Regions from separate parts of the Homo sapiens genome. Here regions 2 and 3 are each linked to region 1. Evidence: promoter capture Hi-C in 16 types of primary human blood cells and fetal thymus (Javierre and others, 2016). All regions are on one chromosome and are shown on one strand. Each heading gives the region's core, a stretch centred on a gene start or on the middle of the fragment in contact. The rest is flanking DNA. Distances are from core to core; before and after follow the strand shown. Region 1 holds the start of AXIN2 (axin 2). Region 2 overlaps CEP112 (centrosomal protein 112). Region 3 overlaps CEP112 (centrosomal protein 112).

Region 1 (4,472 bases), core at 454-2,953:
TACAGGCGCCCCCCACCACGCCTGGCTAATATTTGTAGTTTTAGTAGGGACAGGGTTTCACTATGTTGGCCAGGCTGGTCTCGAATGCCTGACCTCAGGTGATCCGCCTGCCTTGGCCTCCCGAAGTGCTGGGATTACACGGGTGAGCCACCACACCCAGCCTCTTCCTTCTCTTTTTCTATGGATACCTAGATAGAGCCACAATTCTTGCATGTTTTAAAGTTCTGAAGGCCTAATGACAGGCCATCTCGCATTTAAAAGGGCTCGTCATCCATTAAGTTGGAGAGTAAGAGCCTTGCACAGCTCTGAGGCCAGGACTCTGCCTTTCACTTCTTGGATCTCTTTGGTTCACACCTTTATGTGTGTGTGTGTGTGTGTTTTTTTTTTTTTTTTTTGAGGGAGTCTCGCTTTGTCACCCAGCCTGGCGTGCAGTGGTGCCATCTTGGCTCACTGCAACCCCCCCACCCCCGTCTCCTAGGTTCAAGCGATTCTCCTGCCTCAGCCTCCCGAGTAGCTGGGACTACAGGCACGTGCCACCACACCCGGCTGATTTTTGTATTTTTAGTAGAGACGGGGTTTCGCCATATTAGGCAGGCTGGTCTCGAACTCCTGACCTCAGATGATCCTCCAGCATGGGCCTCCCAAAATGCTGGGATTACAGGCATGAGCCACCGTCCCCGGCCCTTTGTTTTTTAAAAGGAAGAAAAGTTAATTATTCGCTCATAACATAAGGAATCATTCTATAGCAGCAGCAGAATAAATACACAATGCTCTGGGTTTGTGACATATTTTCTCATTTTAACGGAGAAGAGAAGGTTGTGTGTGCCTTATAAACGTTTTTGGGCAAATGTGGGAGAAATTCAAAGGTGACAATGGGGTGAGGAGTTTTCGATACATTAAAACGGCATGCATGCCTTGTCGTTTGGAGTGGGAAAAAAGATATTCCTATCGGTTTAATATGTAACATATGGCAGAAGAGGGGACTTTGGAAGAGTAACGGGTATGCAGTTGTTTGGGAGAGATGGCCAATGTGTGCCGCTACGAGGGTCTTATGGCCAGCAGGTTAGGAAGCTGGACCTAGGTCTTCAGGGCACTGAGGTATGCCTCCTAACTGGTGTTAGCACTCAGGCCTATACTGGCGGATTCACACCCCACTTTCACACATGCACAAACGCAATTCATCCACCAACTGCAGTCCTATATTTACCCGAACTCAGATGCACGTGCACAAGCGCGCACAGGCATGCACACGCCTCCAGCGGCTGGGCCCGAGTCCGCCCTATGACAGCGGGCCAGCCAACCCCAGGGCCGGAACTCCCTTTATAAAGTCCTCCAAGCCCAAATTCCCAGGGAAACTTGAATAGAGGTAGAAAAGCGTTTGATGATAGAAAAAAAAAAATCTGCTTGCTTGCAGTTCTTGCGATGGCCATAATGCTACCAGAAACTGTTGCATTCCAGAGCCGGGGAGAGCGAGGGCAGGCAGGGGGAGGAGGCGGGAGCAAAGAGGCCGGAGAACTTAAAAGAAGAAATCAGAACTCGGGCTGAGAATGCCCTCGGGGCCGCGGGGGGCTGGCAGGGGGCGGAGGAGAGGCCGGGGAAGGGTTAACGCGGGAGCGGAGCGTGCGGCGGGGGCGGGCCGGGGCGGGGCGGGGCGGGCGCGGGGCGCTGTCCCTTTAAGGCGGGCGGCGCGGGCCGGCCGAGCGCGGCTGTGATTGGCGCGGCGGGATCACTGGCTCCGCGAGCCTGGCCCGGGGGAGTCGGCTGGAGCCGGCTGCGCTTTGATAAGGTCCTGGCAACTCAGTAACAGCCCGAGAGCCGGGAAATAAAAATAACCCCTCAGAGCGATGGATTTCGGGGCCGCCCGGCGGCCGAGGCGCCCGCCGAAGGCCCTGCTGTAAAAGGTGGGGGTGGAAGCTCGGCCCCAGCGGAGCCGCTTCAAAGAAAGCCCCCCTCTTACAGGGGGCGAGGTCGCGCCGAGCCGCGGCGTGGGCGCGGGGGGCGGGAGGGGGCCCGGCCAGGCGGAGGCCGGGCCTGGAGGGGGGCGCGGGCGGGGCGGCCCTGCGGAGCGGTGGCGGGGCTGCGGGGGGCGGCCCGGGGCGCGGCCGGCGCGTACCTCCCTTTCAGGACCGTGCGCTCGGCTCGCGCCTTTGAAGTGCACAGTTAAATCCACAGCGCAGTTTTTGTTGGAAGCGCCCGGAGGACATTTGGTGCGCCGAGTGACTGCTGGAAACAGGACCTGCGTTGAAAGCCGGGCCGGGCGGGGGCGGAGGCCCGCTCGGATCTTTTGCATAAAAGGGGCGGCGGGGCGCGCCGTTCCCCCTCCCCGGCCGGTGGCTTTCGCTCTGAACCCGGGATTGTTGTTTCCCGCACCCCCTCCCCCGCCGCACGACTCCCCATGTTCCCCGACGCCGCGGCCGGCCCGGGGGGGCCCGGGGCTGCCGCCGCGAGCCGAGCCGGGGGCCGGGGCCGGGCCCCTGCCAGGGGCGCCTGCGAGGTCTCGCCGCCGAGCGCGCGCGGGGATCAATGGTGAGTGCCGAGGCCGAGGCGGCCGGGCGGACCGCGCGCTTTGATGTGCGGGGCGGCCCTTTGAAGTTGGCAGGCCGGCTATTTCGGGGCGCGCTAGGGGCCGGCGCGGAGGGGAGCGGCGGACCCGGCGCCCAGCGTTCCGGGGGGCTTGGCCGGGCAGCCTTGCGCGCCCTGCGCCGGAGCCCCCTCCCCAGCGCGGTGACCGGGTTGGCGGGGGGCCCAGAGAGGAGACTTATCCGAGTGGCGGCAGTGGCGGGGGCGGAGAGGGGGCAGATACCCCCCGGGGGTCGCGTCGCTGTCGCGGTTATGGATGTGAGTCGGCGTGTGAGTGCGCGCGGGAGTGCCTTTGGGAGGTGGGATGAAAGGGTAGCGGCGCCCCCCGCTTGCCCTCCCCCGCCCCCCGCCTCTCCTCCGCCCCATCCTCTCCTCCTACTTCTCTTCCCCCTCCCCTTTTCCCCTCCCTGCCGCGGGTCCGCGCTAAGGGGCCCACAGCGCTGGCGGAGGCTCAGTCTGCGCGCAGGACCGGCCCAAGTCCGGGGCGCCCGTGTCCCTCGCGTCCCTCCTCCCGGCCCGGGCCCCTCGCCCGTGGCCGCCCCGGCCCCTTTTGCGGAGAGGCAGAGACTCCGCGCGTCGCCATTTCTGGACTAGGCTGCTGCTTTCTGTGCTTTTTCTGCGGGCGCCTCTGCAAACGGCGGCGCCGGGGACCGACCCCCCGCCCGGGCTCGGGGCGCTGCTGGCGTGTCCCGGGGTTCCGGCCTCGAGGTGTGCCCGCCAGGGCTCTGGAGGCGTTCAGTTGCATTTGGGCCGGGGGACCGGGCCGGAGGGGCTCGGAGGACATGAGAGCCTGGCTTCGGCGGCCTTCGTCTTCCAGGTAACGGGGCCGCTCCACCTCCCACCGCCCGGGTAGCGCGGTGCCAACGGCAGCCCCACTTCTCCGTGGGCCGCGCCGCCCAGCCCCGCGGCTCGAGGCTCTGGTCGGGTTCAGCGTGCACCCATCCCAGATCCGGGGTCCCTGGCTTCTCGCCCGGGGTTGCACCCCGTTCAGCCCCTACCCTTCTTAGTTTGATCTTTTCCGTGCTAGGGAAAGCAGCTTGTTTATTGGTTAGATAAGACTTTTTTCTTTGGAAAAAAGACAGGCTTGAAATCAGTAGAGTTTGGGATTCTTGGCACAGGCAGTAGTGGCGTGAGACGGCTGGTGATCCAGTTTTGTAGGTTTCGCGGATCCGGGAGGTGGGTTGGGGGCACGGGGGCGACGGTTCCGAGGCTTCTCAGCTCTCTCTCAAAGTTTGAAGATGAAAGTCTCCCCTGAGTGAGTTGGTTTCTGGTTTGGGGGGAGGTCAGGGAAGACAGAGGTGTTGACTGAGCTGGATTCTTGGTGGGGGTAGGGGGCGCGTAGCGAACACTCAAATCTGAGTTGGGGAGGGGGTGTTTGCGTGCTGAATCTGGGAGTCCGGGAGCCCAATCCGCCTATGCTGGGCGGGCTTCTCTTGGGCCAGGATCTTCTGAATTTTTAAGGAGTGGGAAGAGGGAGCGCAGAGGGAGGGGGTGGGTGGGGAGAATGGGAACCAGATGCCGGGGAAGGGCACGTTTGGAGCTCGAGTTATCTGTGCAGGGCCGAGTGGGGAAATATACCGAAATTGGTTTCACCTGCACACAGCCTAGCGGCTGGGAGTGCGCCTTTTTGGAGTTGATGGTATCGGGGGAGGGGAAGGGAGGGAAGGCGAGGCGCGGGCTGAGCTGCCCTGCGTGCGCCCTGGCCGAGTGGGTTTTTGGAAGGTTGTGTCTTACACCTCCAGTGTCCCCCTGCCGTCCCCAGCTCTTGCCTTCCTCTCACCTTCCCCGCCTCTTTCCCAACAGCTCCCTCCCACCCCCAACCCCGAAAAGTGTGCAGGGAGCTCAGATTTCGCTTTTGAAAAGCAGCGCCTGATACTTTAGATGAGCACCTC
Region 2 (4,472 bases), core at 968-3,467, 610 kb before region 1:
ACAATAGACATCCACACCTATATAATTAAGAAATTACAGGCCGGGTGCGGTGGCTTATGCCTGTAATCCCAGCTCTTTGGGAGGCCAGGGCGGGCGGATCACAAGGTCAGGAGTTCGATACCAGCTTGGCCAATATGGTGAAACCCCGTCTCTACTAAAAATACAAAAAAATTAGCTGGGCATGGTGGTGGGTGCCTGTAGTCCCAGCTACTCGGGAGGCCGAGGCAGGAGAATCGCTTGAACCCAGGAGCCAGAGGATGTAGTGAGCTGAGATTGCACCACTGCATTCCAGCCTGGGTGACAGAGTGAGACTCTGTCTCAAAAAAAAAAAAAAAAAAAGAAGAAATTAAAAATTGGCTCATAATGTACATACTGTTCTGAGACTTGCTCTTTTTTTTACTCAGCTATGTCTTAAACCTGTATCATGTGGACTTCTAAATTACAGATAATCCATAATGTGGATATACTATAATTTAATCTGTCTCTTCTGCTTTTAATTTTTTATTGTTATAAAGAATGCCTGAGTTTACATCCTAGTAATCCATCATCAGGCACCTTATTTAAAAATGCACCCAGGGTTTGTTTTAATCAGACATTATACGATGACAGACATAGAGACAAGTTGCCTTTGAAAGAAGAGTTTATTTCTCACAGTTTCCAAGAGGAGGGAGGCATGCCACACCATGCAGGCCATGTGGAGAAGCACAAGGGTTGGTCAGGAGGCAGAAGTAGCAAGGAGAAGCATGGGTGAGAGCCTTTTTATATAGTGGTGGGATGTTCCCTATTGGACAGAAAGTGAAATACCGATGTTGGGGTTTGTAGTTGGAGGGTTTGTAATATAATTTCCAAGTGCCCACAAAAAGACAGGAATGGTAAGGATGTGGACAACTTTGGCTGTTAGTTTGGTCCATGATTTCAAGATGCCAAATTATCAGTTAGAATATCAAGAAGGATTATTATATGCCTGCATCTGTTTTGGGCTATTATGGACTCCTAGGTGAGAAATTGCTTTGTTGGTGGAGTTATTAGTTGGTTCAACATCTTGTGCAATGGTTAAAAATATATATATATATACACACACACACACATATATACATATATATACACACACATATATACATATATATACACACACACATATATACATATATACACACACATATACATATATACACACACATATATATACATATATATACACACACACACACATATACACATATATATACACACACATATATATAGGTTATTATGGCAAGATCTAATAGGATAAAGTTAAAAAGAAGTACATAAAGTATAGGAAGCTTCCGTTTGTGTTTGTGTATATGTGTTTTAGAGGCTCTGTGGATACATATGTGTTCGTGTGCAGGGAATCTTTCTGGGTACCACACATGAAACTGTTAAAGGTGGTTAGCTTTAGGGATTTGGACTAGTTTGGAGTGTACATTTAAAAACGTTCTTGTAAAAAAAATGTGTCTATGGTATTTCTAATAATCACACTCTTATTTTGATAGATACTGTTCAGTTGCCTTCTGAAATATCATCTTGTTAAAATGTTTGTGCATACACATTGCAAATTAATAAATTTGTATAACAGATATATATACATTTAAACATAAAAATAAAAAATTTTCTAGTAAATAAATGTTTGTGGATTCCACTTGTATTTCTAATTTGTGAAAGCAGAGGCCAAGTGAGGCAAGTCATACCATTTATGGATCTCCTACTGCATGCTAGGTACTGTTCTAGAAATCTTTTCCAAGTCATCAGATTGAATCCTCTCTATAGTCCAGTGAGGCTGACATCATTGCCCTTTTGTATTTATAGACAAGATAACAGCTTCAGGAAAGTCCAGTGACTTTTCCAGTGATGGATCCAATATTGGAATGCAGGGCCTTATGATTTCACACCCATGTTCTTTCTAGTGTATCATATAGGCATAAGTACTTTATGCAGCAAATATGGAAATTTCAGTTTTATCTGTTTTTTTCCACTTGTGCTGCGTCAGCAATCCTGGGCAGCTATACCTTTGTTTTTGGTTATTTCTAGGTTGAGCTGAAAGAAAGCAGTTTGCCTTTGTTCACATTCCACTTCTGACACTTGGCAACCATCTGTCCTCAGGCAAGTTACTTAATTTCTCTAAACCCCAGTTTCATCACTCGTAAATGGAGATAGTGGTAGTACTAACTTCGGGGTTAGTACTACCACTATCTCCATTTGCAAATGGAGTTGTAAGGACAAAGTGAAATAAGACGTGTAGAGCCCTTGACAGAGGGCCTGTTAAGTGTTAGCTGCGGCTACCACCATCATCACTGGTATGGTGATCATTATTGTAATAGTTCATCAGGGCCTTGCTTGTTAGATTGTTTGACCATGCTTTTGCTTCCCTAATTACTAATCCTCCCAAAGGGTATTATCTTAAAGTCTGTTGGTCATTAATTATTTTCAGTTACTAAAAGTCATTTTGTATTCCCTGAGAAAAATAAATTATGACTCTGCAGAAAGGTTATGATTGTAAGTATGAATCCTGCACAATATCAAAATAAAGAATGGTAATTCTATTTTAAAAGAGGCTTTATAGGAATCTTTAAACAATGTAATAGGCCTCTTTTTCAAGGATAGAAGGAACACACAGTGGCTGGCCTCATTGTTTACATTTTTTCACGCCATATATTTGAAGCTGCCTAAGTAACTGTGTGTTTTTTTTTTTTTTTTTTTGAGATGGAGTCTTGCTCTGTCACCCAGGCTGGAGTGCAGTGGCACGATCTCGGCTCACTGCAACCTCTGCCTCCCGGGTTCAAGCGATTCTTCTGCCTCAGCCTCCTGAGTAGCTGGGATTACAGGCGTGTGCCACCACGCCTGGCTAATTTTTTTATTTTTATTTTTAGTAGACACGAGGTTTCATCGTGCTGGCCAGGCTGGTCTCGAACTCCTGACCTCAGGTGATCCCCCTCCCTCGGCCTCCCAAAGTGCTGGGATTACAGGTGTGAGCCACCGTGCTCGGCTGGTAACTAATATTTTGATTTTAGTTCACATCATCTATATATTCTTCATGCTTTATCTCAAAGAACACAAAAGTAATAGGTTGTATTCTTGCTTTACAATTCTGTGAAAAATGTTTTGAAGCTTCTTGTTAATGGCTTGTAGTAATTTTATGTCTTTTCAGTGAAGTATACGTGGTCTGGTAGCTTATCACCAAAGTGCAGTGAGGTTCTGGGATAGGGAAAGATGTAAAAAAATGATTTAATAGCACTTATTATTTTTACTGAAAACTTTGATTAAAAGTTAGGGTAGGGTGAAGAGGAGTAATGTTAAATAAACCCTGACCTTTAAACACTGCTTTACAATGGAAGAAACACGTTGCTTCTGCTTATTTGAGAGGAATTTATTGATGAAAAAGAAGGCATTTAATTAGGTGCCATTTTATTAGGAGCCTACACCAGATTGCTTAGGATTTCTAGGAGAGTGCAAATAATTATTATTAACTACCTACTATTTTTACCATATCAGATTTAGGCTAATTTTATATAAATTATATTTATCTTTTAACTCATGTTGGGTCATCTAAATAATACATGTGTTCATACCTGTAAGAAAGAACTTGGAGAATAATTATCCTATTTTAAATAATTATAGAGGACTATAGTTTTTACATCTTTGCTTTAATGAGATTTTGCCATGGGTTATTTGATGCTAGATTTTAGTTTGGAATGAAGATTCTAATTATGGTCCTGCCCTTATGGAAAATGTGACTTGCTTTATAATGATCCTCTTTATGATATGGTTTTCCAGGAATGCATTGTGGCAAAAAGCTGGGATTCTGTATGTCTTACCCCAATATAGCTAGCATTTCATTTGTGTGTGCAGTTTAATAACATGGCCAGCAGATGGTGATCAAGTATAATGAAAACCCACTTGTGGTTGAAGAAGTTAATCTATGTGAGCAAACATTTTTCACTTTAAAAATATTGATTTAATTTTTTAGTCTGGGCATGCAAAAGAATCTTTTTACTTTGTTAAACTCCACTTTTATATGTAAATGATACTATATAACATTATAAATTGCTCCTCCTGAAATTGTTGGATAATTTAGCAAGGAGCCAATCAATACCTTTCCTTCTTAGTAAAACCTTCTTAAATATTACCTGCCAAAAGTACATTCATTTTATTTGTGAATAACCCTGATGTTTGGGCAGATATGTGTTCTACAGCAGTACTGTTCAATAGAACTTTCTGATGGTAATGTTCTATAGGCGGCACTGTCCAATACAGTCGCCACCAGTAAACGTGACTATTGAACACTTGAAATGTGGCTGGTGTGATTGAAAAACTGAATTTCTAATTTTAATTAACTTAAATAGCCACATGTGATTAGGGGCTACTGTGTTGGGCAGAACAGTACCAGATCCGAATCTTCTGCTTGGCCATTGCAAAACCTGACTGACCAGATGGAGAGCTGGTGGCCTGTTCTC
Region 3 (4,472 bases), core at 1,028-3,527, 580 kb before region 1:
GGCTGAAGCAATCCTACCTCATCCTCCCAAGTAGCTGGGACCTCAGGTGTGTGCCACCACATCCAGCTAATTTTTATTATTTTTATTTTTTTGTAGAAATGAGGCTCACTATGTTGCTGAGGCTGGTCATGTACTCCTGGGCTCCAGCAGTCCTCCTGCCTCAGCCTCCCAAAGTGTTGGGATTACAGGCATGAGCCACTGCACCCAGTCATTCTTTTTATTTCTGTTAAATTGAGTGTAATGTCTTATCTTTCATTTCTGATTTTAGTTGTTTAGTCTTCTCTCCTTTTTTCTTATTCTGTGTAGCCAAAGGTTTTTCAATTTTGTTGATCATTTCAATAAATCAACTCTTAGTTTCATTTTCTCTGTTGTTTTTCTATTTTCTGTTTTATCCCTGCCCTAATCCTTACTATTAATATTTACTTCCTTCTGCTGGCTTTGAGTTTAGTTTGTTCTTTTTTTAGTTCCTTAAGGTGTGCATCTAGGTTGTTAGAGTTTTTTTTCTTTTTTAATATAAGCTTTTACAGTTGTAAATTTTCCTCTTAGCACTGCTTTCACTGAATCCTACACATTTTGGTATGTTGTGTTTTTGTTTTCATTTGTCTCAAGATGTTTTCTAATTTCCTTTATTTTGCTTTCTTATTTGACTCATTGATTGATGAGAATTTGTTGTTTAATTTTCACACATTTGTGGACTTAATAAGTCATTTTGTTAATTGCTTTCTGACTGTTATATAATTCCTTTGTTCATTTCTTCCTTATATTTCTTTGTGATTTGATGATGTGTTTATTGTTACTGTGGTTTGCTTTGATTCTTTTTTTTTATGTTTTGTGTACTTACTATATTTAAAGAATTTGTGTTACCATAAGGCTTACATAAATCATCTTATAGTTGTAACAACCTATTTTAAGCTGATAACTTCGATTGCATTAAAAAATTCAATACTTTTACTCACACACTTTGTTATTAATGTCCCGATTTTCACCTTTTAATATTCTGTATTCATTAACAAATTATTTTGTGGTATGAAACCATCCAAGTTGTCCCATAAAATGGATGTTTATGGTTTTTTTGAATAAACATAGAAATTAACCCACCCAGTCTTAACACTGGAGAAACTTAACGTTTGTCTTATTTGAGTTCCTGTCTCTGGAAACCAACCATCAGGTATCCCAGATAGTATCAAGGAACTGAAACTTACCAGATCACTGCATCTAGACAATGTTATGCCAGACCCCTCACCTATCATGATTGCCTGACCAACCACCTGCTTCCTGTTGACGAACTCCTCTTCCTTACCAGTCCCTAATTCCTGTTTTCCCACAGGTAGTTACAGTTCTTCCTGCTATATAAACTAATTTTAGTTGGGCGAGGAGATGGATTTGATACTGATCTCCCATCTGCTTGGCTGCAGTGCCCAAATAAAGCCTTCTTCCCTAGCAATACTCATTGTCTCATTGATCTCATTGATTGACTTTCTGTGCGGTGAGCAATGGGACCTAGACTGGACTCCTGGTGTTTCAGTAACTGTTATAGTTATTTTTAAGACTTTCATCTTTTCATTTTTATGTTGAAGTTGAAAATGATTTATGCACCACTATTATATCAATAGAGTAATCTGTATTTTATATATAATTTTATCAGTGAGTTTCATATTTTCATGTGTTTTCATGCTACTAACTAGTGTCCTTTCATTTCAACTTGAAGAACTCCCTTTAGAATTTCTTTTAAGTCAAGTGTAGTGGTGATGAACTCCTTCAACTTTTGTTTATCTGGGACCGTATCTCTCTTTCATTTTTAAAGGACAGATTTGCATGGTATATAATAATATCCTTGACTGGCAGTTTTTCTCTTTCAGTACTTTGCATATATCATCCCATTCTCTCCTGGCCTATAAAGTTTCTGTTGAAAAATCCTTTTACAGTTTTATGAGTCTCCTTTGTATGTAGTGAGTTGCTTTTCTCTTTTTGATTTCAAAATTCTTTGTCTTTGACTTTTGGCAATTTGATTATAATGTGTCCTGGTGTAGATCTCTTTACATTCAACCTACTTGGGATTCTTTGAGCTTCATAAATCTGGATGTCCATTTTTCTCTTCAGATTAGTTCTTTAAATAAGCTTACTGCTTTTCTCTCTCTTCTCTTTCTCTAACTTTAGTAATATGTAAATTGGCCTGCTTGATAGTGTCTCATAAGTTTCTTATGTTTTCTTCAGTCTTTTAAAAACATTTTTGCTCTTGTGGAATGTATAATTTCAAATGTCCTGTCTTTGAGTTTACTGATTCTTTCTTGTACTTGATCAAGGCTGCTGTTGAGCCCCTTTAGTTAAGTTTTTAGTTCAGTTATTGTATTCTTCAGCCCTCAAATTTTTCTTTTTAAAAATATTTTGTTTGTTAAAATACTCATTTTGTTTATGCATAATTTATCCTAAGCTTATTGAATATTTTGATTATGGTTGTTTTTAATTCTTACCAGCTAATCCATTTACCTTCATTTCTTTAGGGTTGGTTTCTGGAGATTTATTTTGTTCCTTTCTTTGGGCCATTTTTCATTTTCCTTGACCCTTTGTGTTAATGTCTGCATATTTGAAAAACAGCCGCTTCTCCCAGTCTTTATGGATTGGCTTTGTACAGGGGCAGACCTTCAAGAATCGGCCTGAGTAGAGATTCTGGGGTCCTCATAAACTTTTTCTGTGGATATGTCTTCTCTGGACTTCTGTGTGTAAATTTCTAAATAGTGGGATTTTCTGGTTTCTGTTTTTAGGAGATCATAATCTCTTGTTCCTTCTTATTCTGTGTCTTGTACCATGGGCCTTCTGGAGCTAGTAGCACACTGGCTCAATCCTTTTTTGGTTATTACTTGCTTTTTTAGTTTCAGCTGCCCCTAGGCACTTAGTTTATGCTGCGTCCCACCAGTGCTTCAAGACAGATGAGACAGAAACAAGTTCCTTGGGCAGTCCCCCAAGAGTCTGAATGTTGGATATATGCTTTAGTTTTCTCTTTCCCTCCCCAGGGAGAAGCTGTGGACCATGAGTTTTTCTAATTGTGCTGAGCCAGGGGTAGGAGCTCTGGCCGTGAGTGTTTACTAGTCCAAACCACCACCTTTGTTCTCAGTGGTCCCCAGGCATTTAGAGAATACCAGTCCTGTGAGTACTTGCAGAATCCGGTCCCTTAGGCAGCCCCTTCCAAAAGCCAGAATGTTGGACAGATGCTTCAGCTTTTTCGTTCCCCAGGGAGAAGTTGGGACTGGGGGTTTCCACCTGCTAGTTCTGAGCTGGTGGGAGGGGCTATGGTCAGTTACTGCATACTAGTCCAAACTGGAGGCTTCGTTCTCAGCAGTTCCCAACCTGGGACCCTTTCCTGTCACAGCTAAGATTCAGGCAAGACAGCAACAAGTCCCTTAAGTAACCTTGCTTATGGCGCAAGAGGATTCCACAAATTTTCCTACTGGCTTCAGTGTGGTTGGTTTCATGCTTGCCTGGAGTACAGGAGCCTCTCATCTGGTCTCTGGATGTCTCACAAAGGAAATTTTGGTCTATGTATTGTTGTTGAATTTATGTGTCCATTGAGAGAAGGAGAGTCTTGCTGACATCTGACGTCACCCCCTAAAGTAATTTTCTTTTACAGGAGGACATTTGATTGGTCTTCCTTTAGGCTTTATATCTATATATCTATATCTATATCTATATCTATATATAGTATCATTCCTTATTTCTTTATCTGTACAGGGATAAGTTTATATTTTTCTAGTATTAAGAATCAGCATTGATACTTTGAGAGTGTTTGTGAATTCCTGTTGAAATATTTTCTCATTAGGAAAAAGTGAAAGGGAAAATTTATATTCTCCTAGTTTTATGGCTTAAGAGTAGTAAAGGGCATGTCAGGGAATGTTACAAATGTACTGAATTTTTTCTTTCCATGTTGGTTTTGGCATCCTGAAATTAATTGAGGCACAATACCGCTTTTCTGCTTGGCACAAGTACCATATTATGAGCTCACTGTGATCAGGTCCCCTGTACCAATTGTAGGTTGTGCTTATAAGCACCAGGACTTGCTATTCTGTGTGGCGTGTGGCACTTGTTATTCATAAAAAGGCTTTTAAGGTTGAACTTTTCTCCCACTTTCTGTTTCACTGTTCACTCAGACCACTAGTGCCATCACTGAATTTCAGCCTTTGTACTTACTTAGAGTTTAAGTTGTTTCCAGCTGGAGACAGTCTTATGGCAGAAAATGAAACATCTGTACCTAATGTCCTGTTTTTCTTGTGCCAGCCAGATTTTAACAATGATACCAACCTTCTCCTTCAGTTGGCTCAAATGCCTTCACAAGAAGCTGGCTTCTGCAATGCCTCTCCATTACTTGGGCTTCATTGGAGCACGTATTAGGGGTAACATAGTAAGTTTAGTTAATAATAATGGACATGTTGAATTGGAAGTAGGGCTATTCATTTTGTTTTGTAATGGGTTTGGAGGCC

What was found. The method cuts DNA at HindIII sites, captures the fragments that hold promoters and counts their contacts. A CHiCAGO score of 5 or more calls a contact.
Region 2: a fragment that was not itself captured here is called in contact with the fragment with the promoter of AXIN2 in region 1 in 1 of 17 cell types (fetal thymus); the score reaches 6.1 in fetal thymus.
Region 3: a fragment that was not itself captured here is called in contact with the fragment with the promoter of AXIN2 in region 1 in 1 of 17 cell types (megakaryocytes); the score reaches 5.1 in megakaryocytes.

What each region holds. Positions count from the first base shown.
Region 1 is chr17:65,558,879-65,563,350 of GRCh38, reverse strand. AXIN2 (axin 2) reads left to right here and starts at 1,703. Exons shown (of 11, transcript NM_004655.4): 1 at 1,703-1,901. RefSeq lists a silencer at 1,540-1,689. The HindIII fragment of the contact is 19,935 bases long and covers 1-4,472 here.
Region 2 is chr17:66,165,150-66,169,621 of GRCh38, reverse strand. All of the region lies in intron 4 of CEP112 (centrosomal protein 112), which reads left to right. Among named protein-coding and RNA genes, the nearest start is that of CEP112, 25 kb to the left of the region's middle. The HindIII fragment of the contact is 1,822 bases long and covers 1,307-3,128 here.
Region 3 is chr17:66,135,060-66,139,531 of GRCh38, reverse strand. All of the region lies in intron 4 of CEP112 (centrosomal protein 112), which reads left to right. Among named protein-coding and RNA genes, the nearest start is that of CEP112, 55 kb to the left of the region's middle. The HindIII fragment of the contact is 313 bases long and covers 2,121-2,433 here.